Regions from separate parts of the Homo sapiens genome. Here all the other regions are linked to region 2. The links are contacts of gene promoters, found by promoter capture Hi-C in human tissues and cell types (Jung and others, 2019). All regions are on one chromosome and are shown on one strand. Each heading gives the region's core, a stretch centred on a gene start or on the middle of the fragment in contact. The rest is flanking DNA. Distances are from core to core; before and after follow the strand shown. Region 1 holds the start of FSTL3 (follistatin like 3). Region 2 holds the start of MED16 (mediator complex subunit 16). Region 3 holds the start of PRSS57 (serine protease 57).

Evidence for each region. The method cuts DNA at HindIII sites, captures the fragments that hold promoters and counts their contacts. A contact is called where the count stands out against the background at its distance.
Region 1: the fragment with the promoter of FSTL3 here is called in contact with the fragment with the promoter of MED16 in region 2 in 1 of the 25 tissues and cell types used here (dorsolateral prefrontal cortex).
Region 3: a contact is called between the fragment with the promoter of PRSS57 here and the fragment with the promoter of MED16 in region 2, in 1 of the 25 tissues and cell types used here (dorsolateral prefrontal cortex).

What each region holds. Positions count from the first base shown.
Region 1 is chr19:675,122-678,442 of GRCh38, reverse strand. It overlaps FSTL3 (follistatin like 3), which reads right to left and starts at 2,051. Exons shown (of 5, transcript NM_005860.3): 1 at 1,917-2,051; 2 at 466-651. The coding sequence starts at 2,019. The HindIII fragment of the contact is 14,894 bases long and covers 1-3,321 here.
Region 2 is chr19:891,344-894,736 of GRCh38, reverse strand. It overlaps MED16 (mediator complex subunit 16), which reads left to right and starts at 1,550. Exons shown (of 16, transcript NM_005481.3): 1 at 1,550-1,651. It overlaps RNU6-9 (RNA, U6 small nuclear 9), which reads right to left and starts at 1,253; the gene lies at 1,147-1,253. RefSeq lists an enhancer at 1,273-1,422 and silencers at 1,563-1,832, 1,883-1,932. The HindIII fragment of the contact is 37,799 bases long and covers 1-3,393 here.
Region 3 is chr19:693,888-696,996 of GRCh38, reverse strand. It overlaps PRSS57 (serine protease 57), which reads left to right and starts at 1,545. Exons shown (of 5, transcript NM_001308209.2): 1 at 1,545-1,645; 2 at 2,030-2,183. The coding sequence starts at 1,567. The HindIII fragment of the contact is 19,970 bases long and covers 1-3,109 here.

The sequences.
Region 1 (3,321 bases), core at 802-3,301, 220 kb after region 2:
AGAGCCCCTAGTCTGATGTGGGAGGCATCCTCTCAAAACAGGGTCCCGAGGCAAATGCTTGTTAAACATGCAGCTGTAACCCCACCGCAGACCCTGGAGTCTGCAGTGAAGGTCCCTGGTGTGGACATTTGGGGTCACAGGCCAGAATGGCAAACCCACCTTCCCAGGAGCTAGGTGCAAGCCAGACATTTATCGACCAGGTGGGAAGAGCCACCCAGGCAGAGAGCTCAGCCCCAGCAAAGGCTGGAGCCACGTGGTCTCTTCCTGAGTCCTGAGCTGCAAGAGGCTGGAGCCTGGGAACCGGGAAGTCCCCCCAGTCCCTCTCTGAGGCTGGGATCCCCCTGCAGCCTCCTACATACCCCTGTGACGGGCTCAGTCCCTGGACGTTCGGCCCTCGACCACCATGACTGTTTGTGGCTGGTCCTGAGCTGAGACGTCTGCCCTGCTTCTGGCCTGAGGTCTCACCTTTGCAGGGAAGGCAGTGGACAAGGCCCAAGAAGCCGAGGAGGTTGATCTTGTTCCCCGGGTGGGTGAGGTTGGACCAGGCGGTGTCAATGTTGCCGGAGGCACAGCACTCGGCCCGGGTGACATCAGTCTGGAGCACCAGGCTGCAGGTGGCCTCCTGGCCCTGCTGGAGCCAGCAAACACCACCTGCGGGCCGGGGAACGGGGTGCTCTCCTGGGCCACTCCTGACACCCAGCTTCTGGCCCGCCCACAGATGCATGCAGGTGGTGCTGAGTAGTTACGCACGGAATGATCTACCCCCACCCAGGAAGAAGGGGCAGAAAACCACATGGGTGTCCCCACCCTGGCTCCAGAACCCTGGAAATGTCTCCTCCCCTCTGAGCTCCACGTGCCCCCCCCCACAGCCTCACCACCAACCCCCACCCACCCCAGGAGGTCCCTTCCCGTACCCTCCAAGCCCCCAGGCCAGGGGCTGGCACCCTGCCCAACCCCTCAAACACCACCAAACACCAGGCACTGGGCATGTCAGGGTCAGCAGGCCCTGGAGCCGCTTCTCCCGCCTCTGCCCTCTGTCTAGACAGCACCCGAGGGCGAGGGCACGCGGAGCCCCGCGCCTGGCAGCCCCCCCACCGCCTGGCCCGCCTCTTACTCACTCCAACTTGGGAACATTCCCCTTGCATGAGCTCACTGTCTCCCCAGGGACGTGGCCTTCGGGGAGGGGGCTCTGCTCTCCCTTTGGCGCAGGGCTGGGGTGGGGTGGGGCTGCAGGGATGGGGGGTGGGGAGCCAGAGAGCCCCCCATTTCTTCCCCCGTCCCTGGGGGCAGGAACGGCCACAGCCCCCATCCCAGAGCGCTTGCTGGTTCACAGACACTGCCAGGGACCAGCTTGTGGAACGCAGCACCTTGGCACCCATCATAGGAGGGGAAACTGAGGCCAGGAGTGGGGCCGTCTCCTGCCTGGCACCTCCCGGCAAGTCCCAGGTGTGAGACTCCATGCCCCGTCTACCCAGGACCCGGGAAAGCTCTCAGCCCCAGCTGGAGGGCCTGGCTCCCGACACCCAGCACTACCTCTCGGCACCAGGACCGACCCGGACGGTCGCGGCTAGAACCCTGGCTTTGCCTGCTACAGGCTGTGTGACCCTGAGCCTCAGTTTCCCCATCTGGAAGACGGAGATGAAGAGAGCTCCGGCACTATCGGGATGGCACAGGTTCAGGGAGGGGAGAGGTAGACACTAAGCGCTCAATAAATGTCAGCGGTCATTGTGATTAGAAACCTCTGCTCTGCTGACCTCTTGGTGACCCTCCTTCAGACCTTCCCGGCTCCAGCTTGCGCCGGACACCGCCCTCGCCCCCGCCGCCGCCGCCGCGCCCCCCGACGTCCCCCCGGCCGCATTCCGCGCAGCCCCACGTGGGTGGCCCGCCCCGCCCGCCCCTCTGGCCGCCCCACTCACCGGGCGCGGGGTTCCCCGAGCCCATGGAGCTCACGAAGCCCACGGCCCAAGCCAGGGCCCCCCAGGGCAGAGGCCAGAGTGGCCCTGGCGCCCCGGGACGCATGGCGAACGCAGAGACGGCAGCGGCACCGACTTCCCAGCGCGCGGCCGGCGCTCCCTATAAAGGTCCCGCGGGCCGCGGGCGGGGCGGGGCGCGGGGCGGGGCGCGGCGCGGGAGTGGCGGGGGCGAGGCCGTGTCCCGCGCGGGGTGGGCAGGCGCCGGGCCCGGCCGCTGCGGGGGGCAGTTGGGGGCGAGCGCCCGGGTCCCCTTCCGGAGCCAGAGAATGCATTTGGGGAGATGTGGCTGGACCCAGGGCGGAACCGGGACAGGGGTGTGGGTTCGAGGTGGTGGCAGCCTTTTGGGTGGATCGAGGGGCCGTCTCCAGGAATTAAAGTGGGTTTGGGGGTCTTCAGTTTCAGGGGTGGCGGTGAGGTAACGGGGACCCAAGAGGAGCACGTCTGTGGATCCCTGCATCCCGTTTCTGTGATTTGCATGTGGTCACTTTCATGGTCCAAGTGTGGTCTGAGCCCCCCAACCCGGCCTCCTTGTTCCCGACCCGCCCCACACACCCAAAACCTCAGCTGGATATGGTTCCCTGCTCACAGCGCGGGCCGCGCACCCGTCCACCTGGCCGCTGGAGCCGGCCTGTGGGTGGGGAGTGGTTGGGTGTGGGACAGAACGGGGTGCGGCCGGGACAGACCCAGAGACACAGCTCCTTCCAGCATCTCGGACAACAGCAGGCCTCGCCCAGCCACGGCCCCCAGGGAGGCCACTGCGTGTGTGTGTGTGTGTGTGTGTGTGTGTGCGCGCGCACGCCTGGCCTTTGTCCTGGGCCCCTGGGCAGCTCTGCCCCATCAGCCCTCCAAGCCTTTGCAGACATTCCCCCAGATCACCTCAACAAGAATGTTTACTAGGTTTTTTCCTCTCCCTCCAAGATTCAGCAAACACTGTTTCCAGCAGAGGCGTTTCCAACAATGTATGACAGCGACATCTGCGTGGGCCTGGAGGCGCTGCGCCCGAGGGGGCTTTCGTGCAGCCAGACACATTTCCTACTCTGGAGCTGATTCTGTCATGGGGGCCTCCAGATTTGTCAGGCGCCCTTGGCGAGCGCAGGGGAGCCCCTCTGTTCCTGCTTCTAGGGCATCAGTGAACATCTCTTTTGGCCAGAGGGACCCTGCGGGGTGCTGGGGTGCCACGGTGACCAAGGCAGACCCCATCACACCCTCACCGAGCTCCTGGTTTGGACAACAAAATGCAGAGACAAATTAATCTATAACTTCAAGGAGTGGTAAATGCTTTCAGGAAAATACAGAAGGTTGAGGTGGTGGAGAGCGGTTGGGTGTCTGCTGGGCATGCCTGTGTCTG
Region 2 (3,393 bases), core at 301-2,800:
CCCAGGCTGGTCTCAAACTCAAGCTGTCCTCAGACCTTGGCCTCCCAAAGTACTGGGATTACAGGTGTGTGCCACCACACCCGGGCCGCTAAGAACGTTAAATCCCTACCTGCTGCCTGGGAATGGGGATTTTCTGTAAGGTCACTGCGTGGCCCTCTTGGAGAACTGAACCCTGATCCAGAAAAAACACTCTGATATTTGGGCCATTGTTAACCTGTAATTTTAGAACAGTTTTATATTTGCAGAATTCTTGCAAAAATCATGCAGTGAGGCCGCGGTGGCTCACGCCTATAATCCCAGCACTTTGGGAGGCCGGGGTGGAAGGAGGGCTTGAGGCCTGGAGTTTGAAATCAGCCTGGGCAACATAGTGAGACCCCATCGCTATTAAAATTTTGAAAAAACAGGCTGGGCGCGGTGGCTCACGCCTGTAATCCCAGCACTTTGGGAGGCTGAGGCAGGCAGATCACCAGGTCAAGAGACTGAGACCATCCTGGCCAACATGGTGAAACTCCGTCTCTACTAAAAATACAAGAATTTGTTGGGCATGGTGGTGCGCGCCTGTAGTCCCAGCTACTCGGGAGGCTGAGGCAGGAGAATCGCTTGAGCCTGGAAGGCGGAGGTTGCAGTGAGCTGAGATCGCGCTACTGCACTCCAGCCTGGGCCACAGAGCGAGACCCTGTCTCAAAAAAAATAAAAATAAAAATAGAAGAGCACCACATCCATTGCATTAAACTGGCTTTTGGAGGAGGAGGTGGGAATAGGGTTGGAAGTAGGAATACTCAACGGGGTCGGTGACTTCGCTTACAGTTTCCCCACTCTTGGACATTAGAAAATGGAAGAAAGGCCGGGCGCGGTGGCTCACACCTGTAATCCCAGTACTCTGGGAGGCCGAGGCGGGCGGATCAGGAGGTCAGTAGATAGAGACCACCCTGGCCAACATGGCGAAACCCCGTCTCTACCAAAATACAAAAATTAGCCGGGCGTGGTGGCGCATGTTTATAATCCCAGCTACTCGGGAGGCTGAGGCAGGAGAATCGCTTCAACCCGGGAGGCGGAGGTTGCAACAAGCTAAGATCGCGCCATTGCATTCCAGCCTGGGCAACAGAGCAAGATTCCGTTTCTGGGAGGGAAAATGGAAAAAAAAAAAAAAATATGGAACGCTTCACGAATTTGCGTGTCATCCTTGCGCAGGGGCCATGCTAATCTTCTCTGTATCGTTCCAATTTTAGTATATGTGCTGCCGAAGCGAGCACGAATATTGAGTTCCACCACCAGCTATTTAAAGCCCCTGGAACAAATGTCTGTACACATAGGCCGACTTCTCTTAAATGACCTAGAGATTTAACCTCTATTTATATTAGCCCAATGTGTAATGCAACTAACGTAGTTATTGACTGGAGTTGAGAAAGTGCTCGTTGTTCTACCAAATATAGCTACGGTGGCTGCTGGGAATTACTGGAAATGGTCGTATGCAAATAGCCCCGGAGGCGGGGCAGAGCCTGAGCCGCACCGCCCTCCCAGAAGTCTTTGGGAGGCGGCCCCACGCCTCAGGCGACTGGTTGTTACCGAGGAAGATGGCGGCGCCAGACCCGAGGCGCTAGGGAAGATCGCACCGCGGACGCCCGCTGAGCTTGGCGCACGGGCCGACCAGGTGAGTGCGGGGCTGCGGGGGCCCGGCGAGGGCGGACGGACCCCTGACCGTGTCCACGGACCCGAGGGAACGCGGCGCAGCCGTGGCGGGGCCTGCGGGGTCGGGGGCGTGGCCGGGAGCAAAGGCTGCTGGGTAGGCGGCCTGGGGCGCGGGGCGCGGGGCGCGGGGCGCGGGGCGCGGGGCGCGGGGCGCGGGGCGCGGGGCTCGGGGCTCAGGGTTTGCGGCGGAAACCTGGGGGAGGCCTGAGGCCCGCGGGGCTGGGTTCGGGGCGGGGCCTAAGGAGAGTTTGGGGCGAGGCTGAAGGCGCTTGGTGGGACTTCGGGGGCGGGGCCTGGAGTGGGTTTGGGGTCGCCGGGGTGGAGCCTGGGGACTGGGGGGCTGTAGAGGCAGGGCCTGGAGACTGCGGGGTTATCGGTGCGGGGCCTGGAGAGGGAATAGGGTCCCTAGGGTGGAGACTGGGGACTGCGGAGTTATAGGGGTCTGGAGAGGGTAGGGGGTCCCTGGGATGGACCCTGGAGATTGGGGGTTATAGGGGCGGGGCCTGAAGAGGCTATGGGGTCCCTGGGATGAAGCCTCGTATTTGGGGGCAATAGGGGAAGGGCCTGGAGAGTACGTGGGGTCCCCGGGGTGGAGTCTGGGGACTGGGGAGTTTTAGGGGTTGGGCCTGGAGAGCTAAGGGCGTTGGAGGCTGGACCTGGAGAGTACATGGGACCCCTACGGTGAAGCCTGAGAATTTAGGGTGAGGCCGTGGGCTCAAGGGGTGAAATGAAGTGTGGGAAGCAAAGGGGGTCAGGGGTGGGGCTGAAAGACTTTTAGAGGCTTGTGGCGGAGCCTTGGGGGTCTGGGGCAGGCCCTGAAGAAGTAGGGAGCCGGGGTTAGGGTTTGAGGAGAACCTGGTTGCGGGTGATTCCAGGCTCCCTGGGCTTTTGCCTTTGCGAAGCGAAACAGCCCGTCTGGATGCCAGGCGCTTAGAAAGCCTCGAGGAGGTGCCCCCTCTGTTCCCTGTGACACTCAGCCCCCGCCTCGGCCACAGGTGTTCCCCAACACACTCAGCCCCGCCTCGGCCACAGGTGTTCCCCGTCACACTCAGCCCCGCCTCGGCCACAGGTGTTCCCCGTCACACTCAGCCCCCGGCTCGGCCACAGGTGTTCCCCATCACACTCAGCCCCGCCTCGGCCACAGGTGTTCCCCGTCACACTCAGCCCCCGCCTCGGCCACAGGTGTTCCCCGTCACACTCAGCCCCGCCTCGGCCACAGGTGTTCCCCGTCACACTCAGCCCCGCCTCGGCCACAGGTGTTCCCCGTCACACTCAGCCCCCGCCTCGGCCACAGGTGTTCCCTGTCAGTCAGCCCCGCCTCGGCCACAGGTGTTCCCCGTCACACTCAGCCCCGCCTCGGCCACAGGTGTTCCCCGTCACACTCAGCCCCCGCCTCGGCCACAGGTGTTCCCTGTCACTCAGCCCCGCCTCGGCCACAGGTGTTCCCTGTCACTCAGCCCCGCCTCGGCTACAGGGAGCCGCCCCACCGCTTGCCTGTCTGCGGGCTCTTCCTTCGGGAGAGAGCTAGTGTCCACTTGCTGCCCCCATCATCACTCACCTGGGCCAGCGCAGACCCTCCGCTGCGTCTCCCGGCTGTGCCCTTGGCCCCCATGGTCTGTTCCCTAGACAGCCAGAGGGGTCCTGGTGAAACCCAAATAGGTCCCAGCCCTCCCGGGCTCCCACCTTACTGAGAGTAGAAGCCCA
Region 3 (3,109 bases), core at 296-2,795, 200 kb after region 2:
GGCGTGAGCCACTGCACCCGGCCCCAGCCTGTTCATTATTAAGCGCTGACGAGCACCCCACTGCTAGCCACTGCCGTGAACGCCATCACCCGGCTGTGTGAGCTGCAATTTACGACCTGAACTTTGCCACTAAGAACGCTCCCACTGAAAGGTGAAGACCTGCCGGGCTGGGCGCGGTGGCTCAGGCCTGTCATCCCAGCACTTTGGGAGGCTGAGGCAGGTGGATCACCTGAGGTCGGGAGTTCGAGACCAGCCTGACCAACATGGAGAAACTCCGTCTCTACTAAACACACAAATTTAGCGGGGCGTGGTGGTGGGCACCTGTAATCCCAGTTACTCAGGAGGCTGAGGAAGGAGAATCCCTTGAACTCAGGAGACAGAGGTTGCGGTGAGCCAAGATCGCGCCACTGCACTCTAGCCTGGGCAACAAGAGCAAGATTCCTTCTCAAAAAAAAAAAAAAAAAAAAAAAGGCCGGGCACCGTGGCTCATGCCTGTAATCCCAGCACTTTGGGAGGCCGAGGCGGGCGGATCATGAGGTCAGGAGATCGAGACCATCCTGGCTAATATGGTGAAACCCCGTCTCTACTAAAAATACAGAAACAAAATTAGCCGGCTGTGGTGGCGGGCGCCTGTAGTTCCAGTTACTCGGGAGGCTGAGGAACGAGAATCACTCGAACCCGGGAGGTAGAGGTTGCGGTGAGCCGAGATGGTGCCATTCCACTCTAGCCTGGGCAACAAGAGCAAGACTCCATCTCAAAAAAAAAAAGAAAAGAAAAAAAAGGTGAAGACCCCCATGTACAGCCATGTCCCACTGGACTCCGGATCCCACAGAACGTCAGTGCTACAGGCTGGGGTGCGGTCACTGCCTCATCCTCACCTCCTAGCATGAGGTCTGGTATACACTAGGCACTCAATAACTGCTGAATAAAGGCAGAAATCTGCCAGGTGCAGTGGCTGTCTTCTGTGATCTCAGCACTTTGGAAGGCCGAGGAGGGAGGATCGCTGGAGCCCAGGAGTTCGAGACCAGCCTGGGCAACATAGCAAAACCCCACCTATAAAAATAAAATAAAATAAAGGCAGAAATCATCAGAGCTTCCCAGGAGACCGGCCTTCCTCGCTGTCCCCACAGCCCTGAGGTCGGCCCTGGGTTTGGAGATGGGAAGACTGGGGTTTGCGGGGTGGGGGCCGGAGGCGAGCTGCGGGTCTCGAGTGCCGCTGTGACCTCGGTTCCTCGGAAAGCTCCCCACACATGCTGGGCCACGTGGAGGCTGGGTAAACTGAGGCACAGAAGGGTCAATTGCCTTCCCGAGGTCACTTGCAGCCCCAGAGCTGTCTCCTCCTCTCCCTGTTTCCGGACTAGGGGACAATGATTATTATCAACATGATTATTACCAGCCACCACCTGAGACCATCGATTTCTCAGAAACGCCCGCCTGGGCTCCAGGCGTTGCTGGTGGGGCCTCCCGACCACAGGCCACAGCCAGGCTCCCCCTTTCCGGCCGTTGGCTGAGGGTGGGAGCCACGGCCCGAAGACCTCTGCGGGGAGACGCCAGCCTGCGTCTGCCATGGGGCTCGGGTTGAGGGGCTGGGGACGTCCTCTGCTGACTGTGGCCACCGCCCTGATGCTGCCCGTGAAGCCCCCCGGTGAGGAGCCCCCCGGGATCCCCACCCAGGCCCCCGCCAAGTCCCCGTACGGGGGCCACACCCGGGAACCCCCAGTCCCGGGAGAACCCTGGGGAGAGCTCCACCTGCTCCATCTGCCGAGCCCCCGTGGCTGCCTCTGCTGGAAATGGATGGAAATCCGGCCGGGGTCTCTGCCCAGCCCAGCCCTGGATCTCCCGGGCTCGGGAGCCCCTCCCAGCGCATCTGGGGGGCTTGTCTGGGCTCTGTCTCCAGCTCTCTGGGTCTCTCCGTCTCTAATCTCACCCCCTGTCTCTGTCTTGGCCGCTACTTCTCCCCCTGCCCTGACCCCAGCCCCGTCATCCGTTCCTCCCGCCTCGTCCCTGACTCAGGCCGTCCCTCCAGCAGGCTCCTGGGGGGCCCAGATCATCGGGGGCCACGAGGTGACCCCCCACTCCAGGCCCTACATGGCATCCGTGCGCTTCGGGGGCCAACATCACTGCGGAGGCTTCCTGCTGCGAGCCCGCTGGGTGGTCTCGGCCGCCCACTGCTTCAGCCACAGGTGAGCTCACCTGTCGGGCCCCTTCTTTCTGGACACCGTATCCCGACATGAGGGGGACTCCAGGCTGGTGGGGGAGCTGGGGGCGCCGTGGCTCCTGCAGGAGGGGGAGTCTCAGCAGGGGCTGGATTTAAAGGGCAACAAAGGGAAAACAGGAGGATAAGGCAGGGAGGCAAAAGAAGCACAGAAGAAGCAACAGGCGCAACAAGTACATATTCTGTTACTGTAACTGTCACTATGTTCTTTTTTTTTTTTGAGGCAGTCTCGGTTCCCCAGGCTGGAGTGCAACGGTGCAATCTCGGCTCACTGCAACCTCCACCTCCCGGGCTCAAGCGATTCTCCTGCCTCAGCTTCCCGAGTAGCTGGGATCACAGGCGCCCACCACCACACCTGGCTAATTTTTGCATTTTTAGTAGAGACTGGATTTCACCATGTTGGCCAGGCTGGTCTCGAACTCCTGACTTCAAATGATCCACCCGCCTCTGCCTCCCAAAGTGCTGGGATTGCAGGTGTGAGCCGCCATGCCCTGCCTCGTTTTAAACATATTGTTATAATAACTATTAAAATGTATATTGGGGCCAGGGTGGGTGGGTCCCCTCCTGCAGGAGCCCCCACCAGGCACGGGATAGGTTGGTCCTGGGCTGCAGTGTCCCCAGCTCCCCCGCCAGCCTGCAGTCCCCCTCACGTTGGGACACGGTGGATTGTTTGAGGTCAGGAGTATGAGACCAGCCTGGCCAACATGGTGAAACTCTGTCTCTACTAAAAATACGAAAATTAGGCTGGGTGCGGTGGCTCATGCCTGTAATCCCAGCACTTTGGGAGGCCGAGGCAGGAGGATCACGAGGTCAGGAGATCGAGACCATCCTGGCTAATACAGTGAAACCCCATCTCTACTAAAAATACAAAAAAATTAGCCGGATGTGGTGGCA